Linked DNA regions of Homo sapiens: all the other regions are linked to region 3. The links are contacts of gene promoters, found by promoter capture Hi-C in human tissues and cell types (Jung and others, 2019). All regions are on one chromosome and are shown on one strand. Each heading gives the region's core, a stretch centred on a gene start or on the middle of the fragment in contact. The rest is flanking DNA. Distances are from core to core; before and after follow the strand shown. Region 1 overlaps NIN (ninein). Region 2 overlaps NEMF (nuclear export mediator factor). Region 3 holds the start of L2HGDH (L-2-hydroxyglutarate dehydrogenase). Region 4 overlaps LINC01588 (long intergenic non-protein coding RNA 1588). Region 5 holds the start of SAV1 (salvador family WW domain containing protein 1). Region 6 overlaps ATL1 (atlastin GTPase 1). Region 7 has its middle 19 kb from the start of NEMF.

Evidence for each region. The method cuts DNA at HindIII sites, captures the fragments that hold promoters and counts their contacts. A contact is called where the count stands out against the background at its distance.
Region 1: a fragment that was not itself captured here is called in contact with the fragment with the promoter of L2HGDH in region 3 in 1 of the 25 tissues and cell types used here (aorta).
Region 2: a fragment that was not itself captured here is called in contact with the fragment with the promoter of L2HGDH in region 3 in 2 of the 25 tissues and cell types used here (H1 embryonic stem cells and aorta).
Region 4: a contact is called between a fragment that was not itself captured here and the fragment with the promoter of L2HGDH in region 3, in 1 of the 25 tissues and cell types used here (pancreas).
Region 5: the fragment with the promoter of SAV1 here is called in contact with the fragment with the promoter of L2HGDH in region 3 in 1 of the 25 tissues and cell types used here (heart right ventricle).
Region 6: a fragment that was not itself captured here is called in contact with the fragment with the promoter of L2HGDH in region 3 in 1 of the 25 tissues and cell types used here (hippocampus).
Region 7: a fragment that was not itself captured here is called in contact with the fragment with the promoter of L2HGDH in region 3 in 2 of the 25 tissues and cell types used here (H1 embryonic stem cells and lymphoblastoid cells).

Annotation. Positions count from the first base shown.
Region 1 is chr14:50,726,921-50,730,160 of GRCh38, forward strand. NIN (ninein) reads right to left here. Exons shown (of 31, transcript NM_020921.4): 29 at 2,603-2,803. Among named protein-coding and RNA genes, the nearest start is that of SAV1, 60 kb to the left of the region's middle. The HindIII fragment of the contact is 9,275 bases long and covers 1-3,240 here.
Region 2 is chr14:49,808,972-49,812,200 of GRCh38, forward strand. All of the region lies in intron 18 of NEMF (nuclear export mediator factor), which reads right to left. Among named protein-coding and RNA genes, the nearest start is that of NEMF, 42 kb to the right of the region's middle. The HindIII fragment of the contact is 4,499 bases long and covers 1-3,229 here.
Region 3 is chr14:50,310,660-50,313,689 of GRCh38, forward strand. L2HGDH (L-2-hydroxyglutarate dehydrogenase) reads right to left here and starts at 1,570. Exons shown (of 10, transcript NM_024884.3): 1 at 1,352-1,570. The coding sequence starts at 1,491. DMAC2L (distal membrane arm assembly component 2 like) reads left to right here and starts at 1,665. Exons shown (of 6, transcript NM_001382507.1): 1 at 1,665-1,730. RefSeq lists silencers at 1,630-1,759, 1,820-2,049. The HindIII fragment of the contact is 14,916 bases long and covers 1-3,030 here.
Region 4 is chr14:49,992,947-49,996,383 of GRCh38, forward strand. All of the region lies in intron 1 of LINC01588 (long intergenic non-protein coding RNA 1588), which reads right to left. Among named protein-coding and RNA genes, the nearest start is that of LINC01588, 13 kb to the right of the region's middle. The HindIII fragment of the contact is 5,718 bases long and covers 1-3,437 here.
Region 5 is chr14:50,666,997-50,670,457 of GRCh38, forward strand. It overlaps SAV1 (salvador family WW domain containing protein 1), which reads right to left and starts at 1,310. Exons shown (of 5, transcript NM_021818.4): 1 at 878-1,310. The coding sequence starts at 971. RefSeq lists an enhancer at 308-377 and silencers at 738-867, 978-1,547. The HindIII fragment of the contact is 8,992 bases long and covers 1-1,866 here.
Region 6 is chr14:50,616,615-50,620,054 of GRCh38, forward strand. The region is part of intron 8 of ATL1 (atlastin GTPase 1); the gene reads left to right. Among named protein-coding and RNA genes, the nearest start is that of SAV1, 50 kb to the right of the region's middle. The HindIII fragment of the contact is 3,466 bases long and covers 164-3,440 here.
Region 7 is chr14:49,870,328-49,873,363 of GRCh38, forward strand. No RefSeq gene overlaps it. Among named protein-coding and RNA genes, the nearest start is that of NEMF, 19 kb to the left of the region's middle. The HindIII fragment of the contact is 9,165 bases long and covers 1-3,036 here.

The DNA.
Region 1 (3,240 bases), core at 174-2,673, 420 kb after region 3:
ACCATCTGTTTAGATACTAAGTAGTAACACTTAATCATAAAAGAAACCCTAAATCATGTAGTAACTATCCGGAGGATAAAAATTGTAATAGGCAAAGGTCTAATGCAGGAAGTAAGTTACAAAAAATTGGGCCTGGAGGACATCTAGCTTTTAAAAAGGCCTATATTTAAAAAAAAATAATAGCTTTTTAAAGTTCAAACATAAATACAAAATGATGTCTATTTGCCCAACAAAGCAAAACAAAAAAAAAGATAATTCAAAGAACATAGAGTTGGCAAAAGAGTGGAAAAACAGGAAAAACAAAGGCAGTCATATACTTAAAATTTATTTTATTGTTTCATCAAAAATTTCCTGTCAAAAAGATTTGTACATCTTATACAAAACAGTATAAATACCCCTGGTTTTCTTCAAATTCCATATATAAAAGTAGTACCTTTGGTTAAAAATAGTTACAACATATGGAATGAGAAAATATATAGACTACATCCTTTCAAGAATCTTAAATCCACACTCTTTAAAGGGTATAAATAAAATGATTTGTAACAAGCTGATGTTTGTGAATTTGATTCACAAGATCTGTCATTTCTACATAAATAAATAAGAGACATAATACTGCAAAGGTTTAACAGTAAAAATAATAAAATAATTTAAAAGAGCACTTAATTCCAACATATCTTAGCTTATGTCTCTGTGTGTGGTGTGTGTGCATGGGTGGGTGTGTGCATCTGTCTGCCATGGTAAGAAATGCCATCAATAGCAGCCCAGTTTTCACAGGTGCCCAATCCTTCTGTAGGAATCTGCGTGCACTGCTCGCTGCTCCGGTAGCAAGGCCTAGAGAAAGAAGGCAAGTAGTACACTTCACCCTCATGTCAGGATGAGTTTTTAGGGGGAGTCTAAATTCACACATCTACAATGCAAACAATTTTTAAAAGCACACACATTAACACTACATAGGCAAGCAAAGCAACACAAAATGCAGAAGAGATCACATCACTCCACACACAGAAACGTGCAGATTTAACAATATTCTGCATTCTTAAAATTAGTGTCAGCTCAGCAGCGGGAAATGGGAGAGCCTGCAGTAGCATTCTGGTGAGAGTAATAAGCCGTCCACTCTGTCATCTGGTTGGAGGATTTTTTTTTTCTTTCAAAAATCTTAGTTTTTGTCTAATCCTGAAGGAATTGGAGGAAAAGGATATTTTTTTTAACATTGGTGGGTGGGTTGGAAACAGCAGGCTTTGAAAATAGGGTGTAAGAGAGCAATGAGAAGAATCTTGGCGGATCATTTGGTTAGAAGGTCCACTAAAAACTGAGATCAAAGTTTTGTAGTTCAATTATATACTGGAGAGTTAAAGCATCTAACACTCTACCATCACAATTTAAGAACTTTAATACTGGGAAGTTGAAGAGGTATGTATAAAGCTTCCAAAAACAGATTTTAAAGCTCATAAAACAAAAACCTTCTAAAGTTTATTAGAAATACAGCATAGGTACATATGTAGAGGGAAAAGTTTATTAGAACTGACAAGTGGTAGGAGTACTTCGTAATTAAACATAGATGGATAGTAGAAGAAACAGAACTGTTCCTATGTAGAGTTCCAGAGCTAATGTGACTGCAAAGCCACTTTGAGGGGATTCAAATAAGAGATAGGAAATTCCTTGTCAAGCATTAACTGAGTGGCAAGGTATCTGAACACACAAGCGCATGCAAACCAGAAAGGATTAATGTAGAATTCCACAAAGAAGGACTTTTTATTTTATTCCTAGTTCTGAATTAACTAAATAGGCAAGCTGCAAGAGTTAAACTTCTGAGAAAGGATGATGAATGAAGCATTAAAGAGAAATAACTCTGAATACTTGAAAACCTAAGTAATATAAGATTGGATGTGGTGGTGAGCTGGGATCATGCTAATGCAAACAATGAAAAGATTTTTATTTTCTTAAATAGTTTTATGAACTATGTCAACTAGAAAGATGTCACTGACTATACACTCTATTTGTTGTGAAAAGTCATCACTTGTGATTTTCATGGGATGCAGCAGGCTGCACGGCTCTGGCACAGGAAAGCTCAGTGTACTTTGTTAGTAGCGCATATCCTAGCAACATTTAAATTCTGTAATATTTTTGGCATGGGATGGGAACATCAGGCCAATTGTGCGCTGTGTTTAAGTGATCCTGATACTTCATCGTTTATTACAAATGGGCAAATCGTCTATTACAGAACACTAAATGACTCAGCTTAGAAGCTGAGAGCTCAAAAGTAGCACCGCAGTTCTATGGATTTGTCATACAGGTTAAATATCTCTCTGAAAGAAGATTTAGGATTGTGATTTTGTTTTTTTTTTTTTTAATTTAAGAGATGGAGTCTTGCTATGATGCCCAGGCTGGAGTACAGTGGCTATTCACACACATGATCGTAGCTCACTGCAGCCTTGAACCTCTGGCCTCAAGCGATCCTCCCGTCTCAGCCTCCCAAGTAGCTGGGACTACAGGTGTGTGCCATTAGATTTAGGTTCTTTCTCTCCACCTTTGAACTGGTATAACTTTCAAATAAACAGGTAAAATTAACAGGTGATCTACTAGAGTAGAGAGAGCTTCATACCTGTGGTGTGTTGGTTTCGGAGGTCCTGTTTTCAAGTTCCTCCTGCAGGTGCTGGTTTATCCTTTCTGCCTGCAGCAGCTGGCGTTGAAGCTGCAGAAACTGCTCCCTGGGCACCATCGGACAGGCTTGCTGCTGGAGCAGCTGCAAATCCCAAGCATGAGGGGACGGGCTAGGCGTCGCAGTGGACCTCAGGTGCTGCATCTGAAGGACAAGGGCAAAGCCCTGTTCAGCTGAGTCCCTTCAATCCCAGAGCTGCCCTTTATGGTGTCAGGCAGTGAGTAATGAAGACTATTAATTCATTAATAACCCCAGACCCACTGAAACTTGGAAACAGGACAGCATATGGGCCCGAGGAATACAGAAATGAGAAAAGCTATTTCGCTTAGCAGAGAATATGCTTAATAAGTAGGCTTTCTTAAAAGTTTTAGGCTTAAAAAGCCCTTCCCAACTCTGGAGTGATATTAAGGGCACGATGTACATAATACATGTGAATTCTATTTCATTTTTTCTTATACTGGAATAATTACCTCCCCCCTTTTAAAAACGGGTTGGAGAAAGTGGCTATGCTTTAGGGTTTTACCACTTTACCATTCATAAAGATTGTTAAATGTTCAATGACTATATTTTTTCCAACCCCA
Region 2 (3,229 bases), core at 642-3,141, 500 kb before region 3:
AACATTGAAATACACTATGCATCAATGATAATGGCCAAAATCCAAAACACTGACAACACTAAATTCTGGTGGCAGTGGAACAACAGGAACTCCCATTGCTGGTGGTGATGTAAAAGGGTACAGCCACTTTAGAATAGACAGTCTGGTGGTTTCTTACAAAACTAAAAATACTCTTACCATGTGATTCAACAATATTGATGTTTGGTATTTACCAAAATGAACTGAAAACTTATATCTGTACAAAAACCTGCACAGATGTTTATAGTAGCTTTATTCATATTGCCAAAACATGGGGGCAACCAAATTCAGTAGATTAATGGATAAACTGTGGTTCATCCAGACAACTGAATATTATTCAGGGATAAAAAGAAATGAGCTATCAAGCCATGAAGAGACATGGAGGAAAGGTAAAAGCATACTACTAAGTGAAGAAGCCAGCCTTTAAAGATCAGTGGTTGTCGGGGGTTGGGGGAAGGGAGGGATGAACAGGCAGGGCACAGAGGACTTTTTTAGCACAACCAAACTAAATCTGTATGATAATACAATGGCAGATACATGTTTTACACATTTGTCCAAACTCAAAGACTATATACATCAAGAGTGAACCCTGGCTGGGCTTGGTGACTCATGCCTGTAATCCCAGCACTTTGGGAGGCTGAGGTGGGCAGAACACTTGTCAGGAGTTCGAGACCAGCCTGGCCAACATAGTAAAACCCTGTTTCTTCTAAAAATACAAAAACTAGCTGGGTGTGGTGGCACGTGCCTGTTAATTCCAGCTACTCTGGAGGCTGAGGCAGGAGAATCGCTTGAACCTGGGAGGCAGACGTTGCAGTAAGCTGAGATTACGCAACTGCACTCCAGGCTGGGCAACAGAGCGAGACTCTGTCTCAAAAAAAGAGAGTGAACTCTAATGCAAACTATGGACTCTGGGCCATAATGATGTGTCAATGTAGGTTCATTAGTTGTAACAAATGTACCGTTCTGGTGGGGGATATCGATAATAGGGGAGGCTACGCATGCATGCAGCAGGGGGTATGAGGGAAATCACTATACATTCTGCTCAATTTTGTTGTGAACCTAAAACTGGTCGAAAAAAATGTCTATTTAAAAAAAGAGGCCGGGTGCGGTGGCTCGTGCCTGTAATCCCAGCACTTTGGGAGGCTGAGGCGGGCGGATCACAAGGTCAAGAGATCAAGACCATCCTGGCTAACACGGTGAAAACTCGTCTCTACTAAAAATACAAAAAATTAGCCGGGCGTGGTGGAGGGCGCCTGTAGTCCCAGCTACTCGGGAGGCTGAGGCAGGAGAATGGTGTGAACCCAGGAGGCAGAGCTTGCATGAGCCGAGATCACACCACTGCACTCCAGCCTGGGTGACAGTGCAAGACTCCATCTCAAAAAACCAAAAACAAAAAATTAAAAAAAGAAAAAAAGAAAGAGGAAATTCTATCCCCATTGGTCTTGGCACCCCTGCTGAAAATTAACTGACCATAAACTACAGGTTTATTTCTGGAATCTCGATTCTATCCCTTGATCTATTTGTCCATCCTCATGCCAGTACCAGTGTCCTGATTACTGTTACTCTGTAGAAAGCTTTAAAATCAGGAAACATGAGTCCTTCAAAATTTGCTCTTCATTTTCAATACTGCTTTCGCTAATCTGAGTCTCCTTGCATTACCACATGAATTTTAGAATCAGCTTCTCCATCTCTGAAAAAATAAAATAAAATAAAATGCAGGGCCAGGGGCAGTGGCTCATGCCTGTAATCCCAGTACTTTAGGAGGTCAAAGTGGATGGACTGCTCGAGCTCAGGAGCTCGACACTAGTCTGGACAACATGGCAAAACCTCATCTCTACAAAAAACACAAAAATAAGTTGGGCACAGTGGCAAATGTCTATGGTCCCAACTACTCAGGAGGTTGAGATGGGAGGATCGCTTCAGCCTGAAAGTTCAAGGCTGCAGTGAGCCAATCGCACCACTTTATTACAGCCTGGGTGACAGGAGACCCTGTTTCAAAACAAAACAAAAAAAGCAGCTGCAATTTTGAGAGGGATTACAGTGAATTCCTAGATTACTGGGGAGTACTGCTATCAGAACAATATTAAGACTTCCAATACATATACATGGGATGTCCAATTTAGGTCTTTAATTCCTTAAAATAATTTTATAGTTTGTTATCTATAAGCGTTGTAAGTCTTTTGGTAAATTGATTCCTAAGTATTTTATTCTTTTTAATGCTAATTATAAATTGAATTGTTTTATTAATTTCCTTTTCAGATTGTTCACTGGTAGTGTACAGAAATACAACTGATTTTTGTTTACTGATCTCATATCCTGGACATTGCTGAACTTGTTTATTAGCTCTGATAATTACTGGTAGATTCTTTAGGTTTTTTAAATGTGTGTGACCATATCAACTGTAAACATAGGTAGCTTTACTTTTGCCTAATTTGGATTTTTTTTTCTTTTTATTGCCTAATGACCTATATAGAACCACCAGTATAATGTTAAATAGAAATGGCAAGAACAGACATATTTGTCTTATTACTGATGGGAGGAGGAAGGTACCCAATCTTTCAGCATTAAGTATGATTGTTAGCTGTCGGTTTTTCATAAATGCTTGTTTACCAAGTTGAGGAATATCCCTTCTATTCCTAGTTTGCTGAGTGTTTTTATCACAAACAAATGTTGAATTTTGTCAAATGGTTTTTCTTCATAAGTTGAGATAATCCATGTGTGTTTTTTGTCCTTTATTAGTAGATTATATTACATTAATTTCCATATACTGAACCAAGCTTTCATTCCTGAGATAAATTACGCTTTGTCATCGTATATAGTCATTTTAATATGCTGCTAGATTCAGTTTGCTAATATTTTGTCAAAGATTTTTGTCTATATTTATAACCGGTATTGGTCTGTAGTTTTCTTGTGTTATCTTTGGTTTTGTAATACTGGCCTTGTAGAATGGGTTAGGAAGTGTTCCCACTGATCCTATTTTTTGGAAGAGTTTGTGAAGAACTGGCATTCAACCTTCTTTATAATTCACCAGTGAAGCCATCTGGCCTAGGGTTTTCTTTGATGAGTATTTTTTTAATGTTTTTCTTTATTATTAATCCAATCTCTGTACTTACAGGTTTATTTCAATTCTCTATTTCTTCTTGAGTCAGTTTTAGTATTTATATCTTTCTAGGAATTTGTCCATTTCATCTAGGTTACATAATCTGTTGGT
Region 3 (3,030 bases), core at 320-2,819:
TGCCACTGCACTCCAGCCTTGGCAACACAGTGAGACCCTGACTCCAAAAATTTTTTAAAAAAACATTTTAAGTATAAACAAAACTTTCACTAGCCCTACTTTTCTTTCCTTAAGAAAAGCTTCCCAAAAGAACTGTCCACATGCCCCATAACAAATCACAATCGCTATTACTGGTATCCCACTCTACTCCCCCTATCCACCAACACGCAGCAGCCAGAGTCAACTTTTAGAACATCAACATTTAATTATTAGCCTCTTCTTTTTTTCTTTTCTTTTCTTTTTTTTTTTTTTTTTTTTTTTGCGAGACAGAGTCTTGCTCTGTCGCCCAGGCTGGAGTGCAATGGTGCGATCTCAGCTTACTGCAATCTCCGCCTCCCAGGTTCAAGCGATTCTCCTAAGGCTCCGGAGTAGTTGGGATTACAGGCGCCCACCACCACGCCAGGCTAATTTTTTTGTATTTTTAGTAGAGACGGGGTTTCACCATGTTGGTTAGGCTGGTCTCCAACTTCTGACCTCAGGCGATCCGCCCGCCTCGGCCTCCTAAAGCGTAGCCTCTTCTTAAAACCCTTTTAAATAGCTTCCCGTGGCTCTTAGAATAAAAGTCAACGTGTGGTTAAAATAAACTAAAAACCTTGCTGTGATGTAGTCCTTCTGGGTCATTCCACACCATATGTCTTCCACTAAACTTCAGTCACACTCATATGGCCCACCTTCTAGTCGTCAAAATAGCCAAAACCTCTCCAAGCCTTACAGCCTTCACACAAACTGTTTCTTCTACAGAGGACAGAGAAAGACAATGGTTTCGAATGTGACGTCCAAACTATAAATCACAGGACACTGAATTCTGCGGGCTTTCATTAGCATAAGAGCTGCCTCCGACGGGGGCAACACTATGCGGGGTGTGCCAGGAACTGATTTAAGACTGTATTCAGATCTTCCAAGCAACGCCAAAGACTCCAGCTTATAAAGAGCATATTTGATTGCTTATACTGTGTGCTAGGTCCTTTTATCCTTCAAATGACCACCTACAGGAGAGACTAAGGTCCAATTCACAACTGAGCCTTTAAGGAGGTTAAGTAACTAGCCCAGAGTTCAACAGAAAGTGGACGGGTTGTTCAAAGCCAGAGCTACTCCCGACCTCTACTCTATACACTGCCTTTCCTCCGGCCCGTAAATACAACGAATGAACCTGCAGGTTGGTAGCTCCTGGGATCCGAGGTTGGAGTGCCACAGGACCCCAACCTGCTCTCACCCCGGGACAGGGAAATACGAACAGGGGCACAGGTCCACCACCAGGTGCCTCCGCGAGGGGCAGCAGCGCAGGCGGCGGGGAGGACCAGCGGCCACTCACCTGGTGCTGGCGCTGCGGCTACCTCCACACAGCGGTCTTGGCCTCCCAGACGCGAACCCGCACGCCCCAGGGGAGCCACCGGCGAAAAGCCCGCGGGCCCGTCCGCAGGCACCAACCAAATAACGCAGCGCTGGCACCATCCCCTACGCACGCTCCCCTCCCTCAGCGCTCAGAAGAAGCCACTTGACCCTCCACGGCCGAGGACCCGCGCTCTTTAGCCCCGCCCCTCACGCGGGGGCCAATGAAGTGGCGCGCCTTCGCCCCATGTGGGAGAGGCTGCGGTGGCCAATAGGCGCGCGCGTCGGAGGGCGAAGGGCCGGCCAGGGTGCCGCAGACGCGGGGACGCTGGCTCGCTCCCTCCCTCCCTCCCTCCGACGCTGTGAGTAGAGAAGCTAGGCCCCGAGCCGGGCGGGACTAGGGTGGTGGTTGTGTTCTGCCCTCGCCCGTCGCCAACGCTGGGCTGACTGAAAACCTGGCCCTTTGGGTCGCGCGTCTTCGACCTTCACCGCCATGCGGACATGGGGCCGTGGGAGAAACTCTGGGCGGGATTACGGTGAAAATTCTTGTTTGGGCGGGCCCTGCGGCTTCTTTCTTCCGGCTCGCCCTCGGCCCCGCCCCCGCCCCGCCCCCGCTCCAGCTCCAGCCGGGTCCTCGCTCGGCCCCGCACGCGGCCCGCGGTAGACGGAGGGCCTGGGCACCCACCGTCTCCATCCCGGCCCCAGCCCAGTCGAGCGTCCACTAGAAGGGCGCTCCCTGTCCGGCCCTAATCCTCGCTCCTCACGGAGGCTCTTTGTCACAGCGAAGACTGACAGCCCGCAGTCTTCTGGACTTCTTTTATGGGGCTCCTGGCGGTGCTATTCATTCAGTCATTGATTCGTCTTGTAAATATGGAGCGCCTGCTCTGTACTCGACCCGGCACTGGGTACCGGAAGAACCAGACAGCTCGGTTTTTGCCACCATTTATAAGTCTGTGTCCTTTTCTTGAGTACTGAACCGAGATACAGTTTTAAATGTGCTGTGCGGTCTCTGAGCAGCGACTCACCTGTGCAGGTCACTTCACCTGATTCCCTTTATGTAAAAATGAGGGCGATGGGCTGTGTAATCTCTAAAGGACCTTCTAACTCTTTAAAATTGTCACTGTGCCGGTGTTGCTAACACTCATTCTGTATGCTTGATGGCAGTTTTTAATTTTTAGGGTTAGGACAGCTGAACATAACAAATAGAATTATACAGATTTATTACCAGAAGGACTTCGTGTGCCTCTAAGAATCTTGGTTCCAGTCTTTGGTCAGGTAGCTCCAGGAAATCACTTCACCTCTTTGCCTCAGACCCTCCTCAGTGAACTAGGAATGATAGCAGTGTCTCCCTAGTCTTAGGGCCGTTGAGCGGATTACACGAGATAAGGTCAGCAGGTGTTTAGCACAGTGAAGCATTTGCTACGTGATGACATTTATTATGGTTAAAGGGTTTTACCACCAGAACAGTGGTACATAGTTTGCTTTATTTGTTAAAACAATGTAGAATATTGCCTGCTTGTTCCATCACAGATGAAAAAAAGAGATGGTTATTCAACTTTGTGAGGTAATTGTGGATTTCCATGCAATTGTAAGAATAGAGATTCTGTGTACCCTTTACCCAGTCTTCCCAGTGGTAGCATCTTGCAAAACTAGTACCATATC
Region 4 (3,437 bases), core at 37-2,536, 320 kb before region 3:
ATCTCCCATTGGGTTCAATTAACAATGTACATGTCAAATTATGTCACACCCATTACTTGCTCTAATTTGGTCAGGCTGGGTCAGGCAGTCCCTGAACTGATGGAGCTGTTAACCTCCCAGCAGAGAGTCACGGTGGCTGTGCCTGCACTGCCCTTGGCCTTGGCTGTGTCAGGGCAGAACACTGTACTGGGAAAGTACCAGGCAGTGCTGCAGGAAAGGTCAAGTTCGTGACGACAGTGACCAGTCATCAAGCCCTTTACCAGAGCTTTGCCTCTAGAGATGACTATGTGAATTGAATCGTGGCTCTGTCATTTAGCAGCTGTGTGATCTTGGGCACGTGAACTTTTCTGAGCCTCATTTTCCACATCTGTAAAATGAGACTATTATAACACTTCATTTATATTTATACTTTTAATTATATTGATATTTATTTCACTAGGGTTGTAGTGAGGATTAAATGCCATAATGCATGTAAAGTGTTTTGCATAATGCCTGGCACTTAGGATTAACTCAATACCAGCTATTTAGTAGTAGTATTTAATTTTTAAAAAATCTTGTTTGGTCCCTCAAAACTGGGATTCCTTCTGAGATCACATTCAGGAAATATTTCATCAGCCCTCAAGAAACTCGGAGAAGACAGGCAGTCTTTCCTGGAACGGGTAGAGGGGAACCAAAGGATCTGCAATGGTACCTAGACATCAGGATTATTAATATGTGTGCCAAGAGCAACCCTGACTTTAAGAACACCTCTGTGTGGGCACAGAAAGCTTCTTTTTCTGCCTTGGGGTTTCACAGGTCAATCAATCTGTGTGGTCAATCTTTGTGCGGTCAATCTGCAGAGCCCCAAGGGAGAAGGTAGAAGGGTGCTGGGCACTCTCTCCATTTTAAGTAGAGGTAAACTGGCTGGGCGTGGTGGCTCACGCCTGTAATCCCAGTACTTTGGGAGGCCAAGATGGGCGGATCATGAGGTCAGGAGATCGAGACCATCCTGGCTAATACGGTGAAACCCCGTCTCTACTAAAAATACAAAAAAATTAGGTGGGCGTACTGGTGGGTGCCTGTAGTCCCAGCTACTCAGGAGGCTGAGGCAGGAGAATGGTGTGAACCCGGGAGGCGGAGCTTGCAGTGAGCCGAGATCGCGCCACTGCACTCCAGCCTGGGTGACAGAGCGAGACTCCGTCTCAAAATAAATAAATAAATAAATAGAGGTAAACTGAGGCACAGAGAAGTCTCCACACACATGTACAGTACTTTTCATCCCCTCTCAAAAAACAAGGGAAACTGTACTAATTGTAGAGCTAGAGGCAGAATCTCTTGCCCAGAGAGACTTGAGACTGAGGCCAATATTGGGGAAAATTACCTTGGTTTACTTTACAAGCACAAAGGCTATGCTTCTTACCCTCTCTCCACATCCAAAAATCTCTGGGGTACATCGGCAGCCTCCTTTATGGTACATCCAGGAGATAGATAGTGTGTTGTGGAAAAAGCCCTGGGTTGTAGTCAAGAAACTTGTCCTGTAATCCCAGTCCTGCGAAACCAGCGATGTGGCCTTGGAAATGTCACTGAACATAGTACTGTACTTGAGAAACTGAATGGAAGGGTTTGGGCTACACCAATGGTTCCCAAACCTGGCTGCTCATGAGAATCTATGTGTGTGCATATGTGCATGTGTGCGTGTGTGTGTGCTGGGGCAGGGGTAGCTGGAGCCTAGGAATCTGTATGTTGTTTTTTGTTTGTTTTTTGAGACAGAGTCTCACTCTGTCACCCAGGCTGGAGTGCAGTGGCACAATCTTGACTCACTGCAACCTCCGCCTCCTAGGTTCAATTGATTCTCCCACCTCAGCGTCCCAAGTAGCTGGGATTACAGGTGTGAGCCACCACGCCTGGCTGGAATCTGTACTTTGGAAATGTTTACATGATTATCAAGAGCAGTCACTGTTGGGGACCCTGGGAGCAGATGCTTTCTAGAGTGTCTTGCTAGGCTCTAACATTTTCTGACTCCAAAGCCTCTTTCAGCACATTCCACACAATTCAGTCCAAAGGCGATGTCAGCCCTCACAGTCAGCTCCCATGAGCAAATCAGTGTGTGATTCCGCATGTACCAGGCTGTCTGTGTGCTCGGGCCCTGGGTCCTGTCTGTTTCTTGGTTAATTTGGCATTGAAGCCTGCATCTTGGGCTCACCTGGGGCCAGTAGCGCCTGGACCCTGACTTGCTCCAGAGGGGCCTTCTTGCCATTGTGCTGTGGTCTAGAACACCAGCTGCACCTGCCCTGAGTCCAAGAGCAGATTAGGAAACCTGACCAGCCTCCCCTGCACCCTTGAGGCCAGCGTCCTTCACAGGAGTTTTGAATTCACAGAAATGTGTCTCCAGCTGTCTCAGAGTTATGAAAAGTCTCTGTGTTAATAAGGAGCTATGGAACGCCAGGGCTAAAGCTGTCTTTAACTCTTCTTTCAAAACATTCAATCCTGACATTCTTTGGCTTAGTAAATGGGGAGGAGGCTTTTGCATTTGTGTGGGGGCGAAGGAAGGCATAAACTGCGGCTCCCAGGGCTGACTTCTGTCCAGGAAACACAGGTCTAGACGTCCTCTGAGTGGCAGAGAGAACAGGAGAGTGGGACTCTGTGGTGGGAGTGACACTGTGGCCCCTCGCCTGCAGGACACTCCAAGCAAGTGGGGTGGGGCTGCATGGGTGAGTGTTGGGGTGCAGTGAGCAGAGGAGGGGGTGCTGTGTGCTCACCCACCATGTGCTCTTGCCCACTACTGTTGGGTAGGACCACAATCTAGTGTTGCCAAACACGGTGAAACTTGTGATTCTTGGAAGAAATCAGGAATCTCAATTTTACATGAATTTTCCCAGTTTCAAAATGATGACACATTTAATTTTTACAATTCCTTAGGCCGGGCATGGTGGCTCATGCCTGTAATCCCAACACTGGGAGGCTGAGATGAGAGGATCACTTAAAACCAGGAGTTCAAGACCAGCCTGGGCAACATAGCAAAACCCCATCTCTATTTAAAAAAACCCAAATCATTAAAAAAAATTCCTCAGACCAAGCAAATTGCACCTTCAGGCTATAGTCTGGGTAGAGTCCTGGCTGCAGGACTGGTCTGGGTGTGCTCTAATATTCTGCCCCCAAATAGGCAGAACCCCAAAGGAGGTCCTTACATCTTAAGAGACCAAATCCATCTTACACTTGGTGACATCCTTTGTTGGAGGGAGAAGGAAGGCTCTGGCTCTCTAAAGCCTTAGGAATCTACTTTCTCTGCCACTGTATAACAGCCTACTACTGCGCTGTGGATCAGCAGTCCTCACCTTCCTTCTCCCTCTGTCTGTCCCTTGCTCCCAATAAGCCCTGATGACAGAGAGCTCAGATAGGGCCCTCTCCCTGGCTCTACTCAGGTGTGTAGCCAGGCTATAAGCTCTCACACTGTCTCC
Region 5 (3,461 bases), core at 60-2,559, 360 kb after region 3:
AAGGTTACTACCAGCTTCCAAGAAGGAAACTTAAGCAAAGGGCCCAGGGCGCAGTAAGAGCACCAAAATACCAGCTCCATGCCTCACAAATGTCCTGAACACACAAGAATTAAAAATTCAAGAGATTCAACTCAAAAATCAAATACTTACATTAAGAAGAAAAGCAGCGGGGGACCGGAGGTGGGGATTGGGAGTGGGATCTACCCTATTAAAAAAAAAAACTTTTCGAGGGGGGGGTTCTCTAATACGATAGAAATTATTTTGAGTTGCCTTCTTGGAATCTCACGAATATAGCCAAATACAAAGGCTTTTGGCTCTCTGCTCTGCTGTGTAAGAGTGATGAGGCTTTGGGTGGCGGCTACAAGAACGACGGTATGCTTTTCACCTTCTCAAGTCTGCATCCGGCAGCAGGACTAAGGAATTCTGCCCCAGAGTTCGCACAACTTGCAGCACAGTCGAGAGACACCCGCAATGTTTGCAAACATGACGCACATCTCGACGCATCTAAAAGAGTAAAAAGTGTCCCTGTCTAATTACTTTTACTCCTATAGCATTAGGTGATAAGCAATTTAAATGTTTCCTACTCTCTCTTCCAGTAATCAAAACCAACAACTCTGCCTGGTGGGGCGAGGAAGTCTGTTATTTTTAGGGGGTGCTCTTGGGGGGGTTAGGCGCGGGGGGGACTAACCCAAGTTTCTTACTCTTATGGGCTTTCAATCAACGAATACCACTTCAGACACAAGAAAATCTCAAAACCAGTATTTCACGCGACCAAGGACGAAGGAGAAGCCCTGGAGACCCGCCGGCGCCCCCGCCAGGGTCCCCGGAGCACCTGGCCGCCTGGGCCAGGTGTGGGCACGCCCCGCCTGACACTCACTCCGAAGCAGAGGCGACGTCTCCTTCTTCACGTACTTCCCCTGCACCTCGGCCGGCTTGGACACTTCGTTTTTGGTTTTCTTTCGGGACAGCATCCTTCTCGACGAGGCCCGAGGCCGCGCTGAACTGCCTCCCTAGGGCTCCGCGCCGGGCGCCGGCCGTCTCCGCCGCCACCTCCGCCGGCGCCGCCGCCTCCTTCCCTCCCGAGCCGCCGCCTCCGCCGCCGCCTGTCCGGAGCCCGGGGTCGCCCGCAGGGACTGCCGCATGTTCAGGGCGCTAAGCGCGCCGGCCGCCGCTCAGTCGCTGGTCAGTTCCTTCCCGGAAGTCGGCCCGCTCTGCGACGCTGCTCGGGGACGCCGTGAGGAAAGCCCAGCGACGCCGGGCCAGGGCCAGGGCCATGGTCCGCCGCGGGCCGCCGAATAACCGCTACCACTACCGCCGCCGCCGCCTACATCCCGTAAACTTTCCCCGCGGCCGCTGGGAATTCTGGGAAGCTCGACGCAGCGCGGGCCGCCGCTGCCCCTCCCCCACCGCGGCTCCAGGCGCGGCTCCGGCGGCGGGACTCGGGTGCCGGCGCTCTAGGCTACCGGGCCGTCCCCGCCGAGCTGCGGCTGTCCTCACTCATCCTCAGCGAGAAGCAGGTCCTGCCGACTGAGAAGATGAAGGACGAAACCTGCCCCGCTGAGTGCGGGAGTTCGTCGCATGCGCATGTCGTGGAACCTACTCTCCACGAGTTTTTATTGTTGTTGCTTTTGTACCCCCTCGGGATCCCTAGCGGAGGCAGTGACTCTCTTTCCCCCCAAGACGTTGTTCCCTGTTTGAAGGTGTTCTTCCTAATGTTTCCTAGGCTGCTGAATTCAGCTCTCTAAAAAATGCGGAATGCTAACCATGACTCCCAGGCAAGTGCTACACCAAAGCATCTATTCTGCTGGAAACGTTCATGCTGATTAACTAGAAATAAGTTGATCCTCTACTGAGTATCAGGGAGTGCGTTTTTCTATAACAGGAAAAAACGGAAGAATGCAAGATGGAATTTCCAGTACCTCTTTTTAAGATACAATTGGTGTTAGCATATTACAATTATTTTATTGCATCATCACTATCATTAGTATGATTAATAGCCACATATTTCCTCCTGACGTTATGTGTTATGATCTTAGAATTTTGAAGACTTTGACCACTGCGAGTCGGGACCGGGAATTTTCTATCTAAAATAATAGACTCTACTTCCTTCTATATAACTTAGCAAGACTGCCAAATGTACAGGATAACATTTGGAAAATAAGATTGGATTCATCCCCTAGTGACCAAATTAATGCTTTAATAATGAGGAATGCTTTCCCTGAGATCTAAAACATCTCACAAGAGATCTAAGACATATATCACAATTAACAAAAGACATGGAATTTTTTACCACGTAAGATTAAGAAGATGGTCAAATGTTTTACCATGAGCAAACAAAGGAGACATTTGATCTAGTGTCTGTCTCCATATGTTCCCTTGGTGCAGATCTCCCACAATTCATTCATTAACCAGGAAATACTCATTACCCACTGCGCTAGTCGTTTGTGATAGAGCAATAAGCAAAACAGACAAAAATCCCTACTGTCATGGGAAAGAGAAAAAAATGACAAAAAATAAGCAAAACATACTATGTTAGATAGTGATAAGTGATGAAGTGAAAATAAGAGAGGACTCACAATTTTTGAGAGGGTAATAGAGGGACCAGAGAAGGCTCATGAGGAGGTGACATTGGAGTTAAGTGACAGAGTGAGGAAATTGGCCATGCAGCTAACTGGAGGAACAATATTCCAGGCAGAAAGAACAGCAAGTGCAAAGTCGCTGCAAGTGGCCATGTTCCTGGCAGATTGGAGGAACAGTAAGAGGGTTTATGTACTGGAAAAGACGGGGAGACGAATGGGGAATGCAGTTAGAGAGTAACAATAGCCACGGCACCTAGGGCTTTGTAGGCCATTGTAAGGAATGTTACTTTGAGCAGAGGAGTGACATGATCTGAGTTAATGTTTTCATAGGACTGCTTTGGATGCTGTGTGGAGAGTAGACAATGGAGCTAAGGGCAAAAGGGAGATCAGTCAGAAGTTATTGCTGGCTTGGACCCAGGCAATAATAGGTGGAGAGGTAAGTGGACATATTTTAGACATATTTTAAAGAAAGCCAACCAAATTTGCTGACATTGAATATGGAGTGTGGGAGTATCAATCACTGCCATGGGTATGAAAATCTTAATAAACAGAATTGGAACTCACTAGAAGCAGAGTGTACTCTGAGAGAAACATTAGAAAAACAGTTACTTGTTCCTGTGGTTCAGAAATAAGGACGAGTCCTAAAGCGTTGATAGTGTGCAGGGAGAAGAAAGAGTGATGAAACTTAAGTGAGAGCACAATGGGGTTTTGTTACACATCAGGGTATGAAGGCGGGAGCTGAAGGAGGAAGGGGGAGCCAAAGAAGTGCCAGGTTTCTGCCTAAGGCTTACCTCAGAGAAGGACAAAAGGATATTAGCATCTTGTTAATAAAGGCAACTCTTCACACCTGGAGTTTTCCCAGAGCCTGAAGTACGGGGACAC
Region 6 (3,440 bases), core at 647-3,146, 310 kb after region 3:
AGACATTTGTTCTCCATCAAATTGTATTCACTTCTATGCATATATTGACCTACACAATTGGTTTACAGTTAACTATAAGTTATGAGTTTACCAAAGTGCCTTGCCTAGGAAAAAGAGTAGTGAAAGGCAGCTTCAATTTCCATAAAAGTTCCATTTTAATGAGACTTTTATATCTTACAAGACTGCTGCTAAAGCCCTCTTTTGTGCAGAAATATCGTACTTTGCCTCCGTGTTTCTTTGGGCAGTTTTGAAAGTCTGCTATCTACATTATTTTTCTGTCCCACGCTGAATCTTACAATTTGGTGTGATTTCTATCCAGGATGTCTTGTCAGCTGACTGTGATGTTCTCCAGAGGGCTGGCATCTCACTGGTTGCCTCTAGTGAAGAAAAGTCTCCGAATAAACAATTATGCAAAAGTTGTTCTTTGATAATAGTTTCTCATATACTCTTTCACACACAGAAATAACTTTCTAGCTCATTATCAATAGTAACCATTGTTATAATAACTATTTGTTCATGGTCCCTCAAAGTATTGCAATTATTATTGTCTTACCTATTTCTAGTGTTATTAAAAACTGATAATAATATGATTAAATTTAACTACTGTTAATTTAAGAACTTCCCAAAAGGAAATGAAAAAGATTAAAGGTACTGAATCACATTCATTTATGCTTCATTCAACCAGCTTTTATTGGGTGCTTACTGAATACCTACCCTAGCACAGCAGATACAATTTTTTAAATAACAAGGAGTTATCCTTTTTTTTCTTTTGAGGTTGCTCTGCGTTATAGTACCATATGTAGAATGAGCAGGTAGCCACATTATAAGATGTGGAGCTGCTTCCTTAGCAGCTGCAGTTAGACTTGAGAATGCATAGTCAAATGCGTGTTTCCAATCACTTATCAGAATCAGGAAATCCTGAGAAAATATCTTCCTTTGTTAATTTATACAGCAATACTATACTAGTGCATCTGCCCTGTGGAGTTCTTATAAAGCATACATCGTATTCTCAATTATTGTGTCAGGTAACCACCACTTTGACCAAGCCCCTAAAGTCCTTGGAAGATTTTGCCCTTGTGGAAAAAATTACTGAAGAAAATTACTGAACATAATTCTGAATCAGCTATTCATATATATTAATTGACCACTTGCAAGGCCAAAGCTTATTAATGCCCCTCGGCAAATCGATTTGAACTGGTTTGCAGATTTTCTGGTTCATGTCTTTACTGTGTTCAACTAACATTAGCAAGAGCTCACCACCTACGTATGTTATGAATATATTGTTCTTATTTTCTGAATCCAAAATTGGAATACCTAGCATTGGTTCCAATGAGAACAAAGAGGGCTACTGCCATCTTCAGACACATTTTTAATCCAAATGTATGGTTAGATGCTGGTTACTTTAATGATAATTAATTACCACACTTGCTGGTGCATTAACACACAGTCGTATCTTATTCCATTCCAATTGTATAAGGAATGTTTGGGGGCAGAAATTTATATACAAGTTCTGAAAGTGATTTTAAAGTGGTTTTATAAGAAGAAAACTTTGTTTTATTCAGAAACTGAAGAATTCATACATTCTAGGTGTATAGTAATATTCTACTAAAGATGAAAAAACGTAAAATCATATAGCAAAAAAGAAACCTATTAGTGTCAGTGAATACAGATACATGGCAGGCAATAAAACACAAAACAGGAACGTGGTAACATAAATACAAATATCAGTATTGTAGTCCAGTGAATACTAGTAACTAAAAAGCAAACCACAATAATAAATCTATATATAGTACAAAGCAAAATTATCAGTGAAAATTGGTACAATGCAAACAGCAAAATAAGTGAATAAACTCCACTGCAAGTACCTGTAAATCACGGTCACTAGAATTTCAAAGTGGCACAAAACATGAAACAAAATAACTTGGAAAGATATCCAGCATCATGCTTGTGTGTGTTATAAAAGAAGTAAAGAAAACAAATTCTAACATAAAATAGTATTTCAATGTAGCCCCAATGTTATAACTGGGGCTATAATAAAGGGGAAAATGCAAACACAGTCTTAAGTTTTGAATCTTTAAGGCCTTCAAAATCACCAACCCCAAAGCCTGAAAACTCTAACTCTGCTAAAATTTAGATTTTTAAAAATTACAGGCAGTTACTGAATTTACTTAGAAATCAAGCAAGTCACTGGACAGATCTTGCTTTTTTACATAGTATGTGTATTTTTCCATATATATATAATGTATGTGTGTGTGTGTGTGTGTATATATATATATATTTTTTTTTCTTTCTTTGAGACAGGGTCTTGCTCTGTCGCACAGGCTGGAGTGCAGTGGCACAATCTTGGCTCACTGCAACCTCCGCTTCCTAGGTTCAAGCGATTCTCCTGCCTCAGCCTTCCGAGTAGCTGGGACTACAGGCATGTGCCACAATGTACAGCTAATTTTTTTTATTTTGAGACGGAGTCTCCCTCTGTCGCCCAAGCTGGAGTGCAGTGGCGTGATCTCAGCTCACTGCAACCTCTGCCTCCCGGGTTCAAGCGATTCCCCTGCCTCAGCCTCCAGAGTAGCTGGGACTACAGGCATATGCCACCCACGCCTGGCTAATTTTTTTTATTTTTATTTTTAGTAGAGGTGGGGTTTCACCGTGTTAGCCAGGATGGTGTCGATCTCCTGACCTCATGATCCACCCGCCTCAGCCTCCCAAAGTGCTGGGATTACAGGCGTAAGCCACTGCACCCAGCCGTGTACAGCTAATTTTTATATCTTAATACAGACAGGATTTCACCACGTTGGCCAGGCTGGTCTCAGACTCCTGACCTCAAATGATCCACCTGCCTCGGCCTCCCAAAGTGCCGGGATTACAGGTGGGAGCCACTGCACCCGGCCCCAATTTTTCCATATATTTGAAATAACAATTTAAGAAATTGTCCCTGTGTTCAGAAGACTTCTCTCGTGATCTGTTTTCTATATTACTTTGCTAAGTCTGTAATGTTAAGCTTTAACCTACTGCTACAGCTTGGGTTATGTGTAATCAATTATATCAAACATGACAACTACATACTCATACTACCTCTCATCTGCTTAAGTGGCCTTTTCTTGCTATTTTATTTTGTGTTGCTGAGTTCCACCACTAGAGGTAGCATCATTGTCACTATCTTTTTGAACTCTGCAGTCCAGTTACCACAGCTTACCCAGTTTTGTACAGTTCTTAGAAGGTGGGCACGCTATGCACGGAGCAATTTTTGGATACATTTTCTGGAGGGAATGCATTATAATAAGCCAGTAAAAATCTGGTCTCTTCCCCATTTATGAGCCTATATATATAAAACCACAAACAAGACTTAAAACATGAACTGGTTATGGCTGGGCACGGTGGCTCATGCCTGTAATCCCAGCACCTTGGGAGGCCGAGGCGGGAGGATCATGAGGTCAAGAGAT
Region 7 (3,036 bases), core at 451-2,950, 440 kb before region 3:
TAATAATTAAAAATATATTCTGTTACACTATGGTTTATGTGTATGATTTTTTTTTTCCTGAGATGGAGTCTCACTCTGTTGCCCAGGCTGGAGTGCCGTGGCACGATCTCGGCTCACTGCAATCTCTGCCTCCTGGGTTCAAGCGATTCTCCTGCCTCAGCCTCCCGAGTAGCTGGGATTACAGACGTGCACCACTACGCCTGGCTAATTTTTTTTTTTTTTTTTGTCAGTAGAGACGGGGTTTCGCTATGTTGGCCAGGCTGGTCTCAAACTCCTAACCTGAAGTGAACCGCCTGCCTCGGCCTCCCAAAGTGCTGGGATTACAGGCGTGAGGCACCGTGACCAGGCAGTTTATGTGTATGATACATTTCTTTTTTGAGATAGAGTTTCACTCTTTTTGCCCAGGCTGGAGTGCAGTGGTGTGATCTTGGCTCAACTCAACCTCCACCTCCTGGGTTCAAGTGATTCTTCTGCCTCAGCCTCCTAAGTAGGTGGGATTACAGGCATGTACCACCACACCCAGCTAATTTTTTTTTTTTTTTTTGTATTTTTAGTAGAGACAGGGTTTCTCCATGTTGGTCAGGCTAGTCTCGAACTCCCAACCTCAGGTGATCCATCCGCCTAGGCCTTTCAAAGTGCTGGGATTACACGTGTGAGCCACCGCGCCCGGCCTATATGTATATTTTATGACCAAAGGAATTCACACTTTTCTCAGTGTTTGCTTTTAGGGCTAATGAACTGGAAAAGCAGTCCAATTTATACAGAGAATACTGAAGGCACAAGCTGCCTGTGTCTGTTCAGCTGAAACCCCTTGCTGACAAGGTTCTAATTCATTTTGTGACACAGCTCATTTTCCAAGGGGGAGTATAGCCTAGGGTGTGGCAAGAAACAAATAAAGGCAAAACCACTACACATTAGTTAGAATATTGTTAAAAGAGACAGTCTATAGTCACTGTGATGTATGGATAAACAATATTGCATATTACAAGAGTATTTGTATAATCAAAACCATTATATACAAATGCTATTATGATTTATCATTATAAAAACAAATATTAATGTTCTTGTACATTATAATAATAATATAAACTAGAAGAGTGATTTATCCCCTTTTGAGCATAAGATTTATTAAAATAGTAGGTCCCTTTGTGCATTCATTCATTCATTCATTAACTCTACATCATTAGTCATTGGGGAAATGCAATCAAAACCACAAGAGATACAATTTCTTACCTACTAGGATCACGAAAATAACAACAGCAAAACAGAAAATAACAAGTGTTGAACTGGGCAGGTGGTGCATGTCTGTAGTCCCAGCTACTCAGGAGGCTGAGATGGGAGGATCTGTTGAGCCGAGGAGTTCCAGGCCGGCCTGGGCAACATAGCAAGACCTCATCTGAAAACAATGAAACAAACAAAAACAACAAAGAAAAGAATAACAAGTGTTGGCAAGGATGTGGAGAAATTAGAACTCTCATACATTGCCAGCGGGAATGTAAAATAGTGCAGCTGCTGTGAAAAACAGTTTGACAGTTCCTCAAAAATGTAAACATACAATCACCATATGATTGAGTGATTCCACTCCTAGGTACAGACCCCACAAAGAACCAAAAGCAGGTACTCAAAGAGATACTCGCATTAATGTTTGTCACAGCACTATTCACAATAGTCAAAAGGTGGAAACAACTCAACTGTCCATCAACAGATGAATAAGTAAACAAAATGTGATGCATATTCATATTCAGCCATAAAAAGGAATAAGGTTCTGACGCATGCTACAACATAAATGAGCCTTGAAAACATGTAAAGTGAAATAAGCCAGACACTGAAGGACAAATAAATCCATTTGTGTGAAATCTGTAGAATAGGCAAATATGTAGAGATAGAAAGTAGACAGAGGTTGGGAATTAGGGTAGGGAATTAGGAATTTTTATCTTATCTTACTTTTCATTTTTTTGAGACAGGGTCCTACTCTGTCACCCAGGCTGGAGGGAAGTGGCTCACTGCAGCATTGAACTCCCCTGGCTCAGGTGATCCTCCCACCTCCAGCCTCCAAGGTAGCTGGGGCTACAGGTGTGCACCACCACACCTGGCTACTTTTTGCATTTTTTTTTTATAGAGATGGTGTTTCACCATGTTTCCCAGGCTGGAGTTATTACTTAATGGGTATAGAATTTCTGTTTGAGGTGTTGAAAAAGTTTTGGAAATAGTAGTGATGGATGTACAATATTGTGAGCGTAATTGATGCTCCTGAATTATACACTTGAAATGGTTGGCCGGGCGAGGTGGCTCACGCCTGTAATGCCAGCACTTTGGGAGGCCGAAGCGGGCGGATCACAAGGTCAGAAGATAGAGACCATCCTGGCTAACATGGTGAAACAACCCTGTCTCTACTAAAAATACAAAAAATTAGCCAGGCCTGGTGGTGGGTACCTGTAGTCCCAGTTACTTGGGAGGCTGAGGCAGGAGAATGGCATGAACCCGGGAGGCGGAGCTTGCAGAGAGCTGAGATCATGCCAATGCACTCCAGCCTGGGCGACAGAGCAAGACTCCGTCTCAAAAAAAAAAAAGAAAAAAGAAAAAAAGAAAAGAAAAGAAAGAAAAACAAAAAAGAAAAAAGAAATTGGTTAAAATGGCAAATTTTATGTTACATACATTTTAACAGTTGGGCATATCTGTGTGGGTTCATTTCTGGGTTCTCTGTTGTGTGTCACTGATCTGCTTATCCCTCCATCAAGATGACAAAGTCTTGATTACTAGCTATGTGATAAATATTAAAATTGGGTAGACTGATTCGTCCCACTTTTCTTTTTGAAAATTGTTTTAGCTATTTTAGTTCCTTTGCATTTCCATATAAATTTTAGAATAATCTTGTCTATATCTACAAAATAAATCTTGCTAGGATTCTGATAGGAATTGCACTAAACCTGGAGGAAATTGACATTTTTTTACCATGCTGAATCTTCCAATCCATGAACATAATGTATCTTCCCATATGTTTGGATATTATTTTATTTCTTTTGTGTTTTGTAGTTT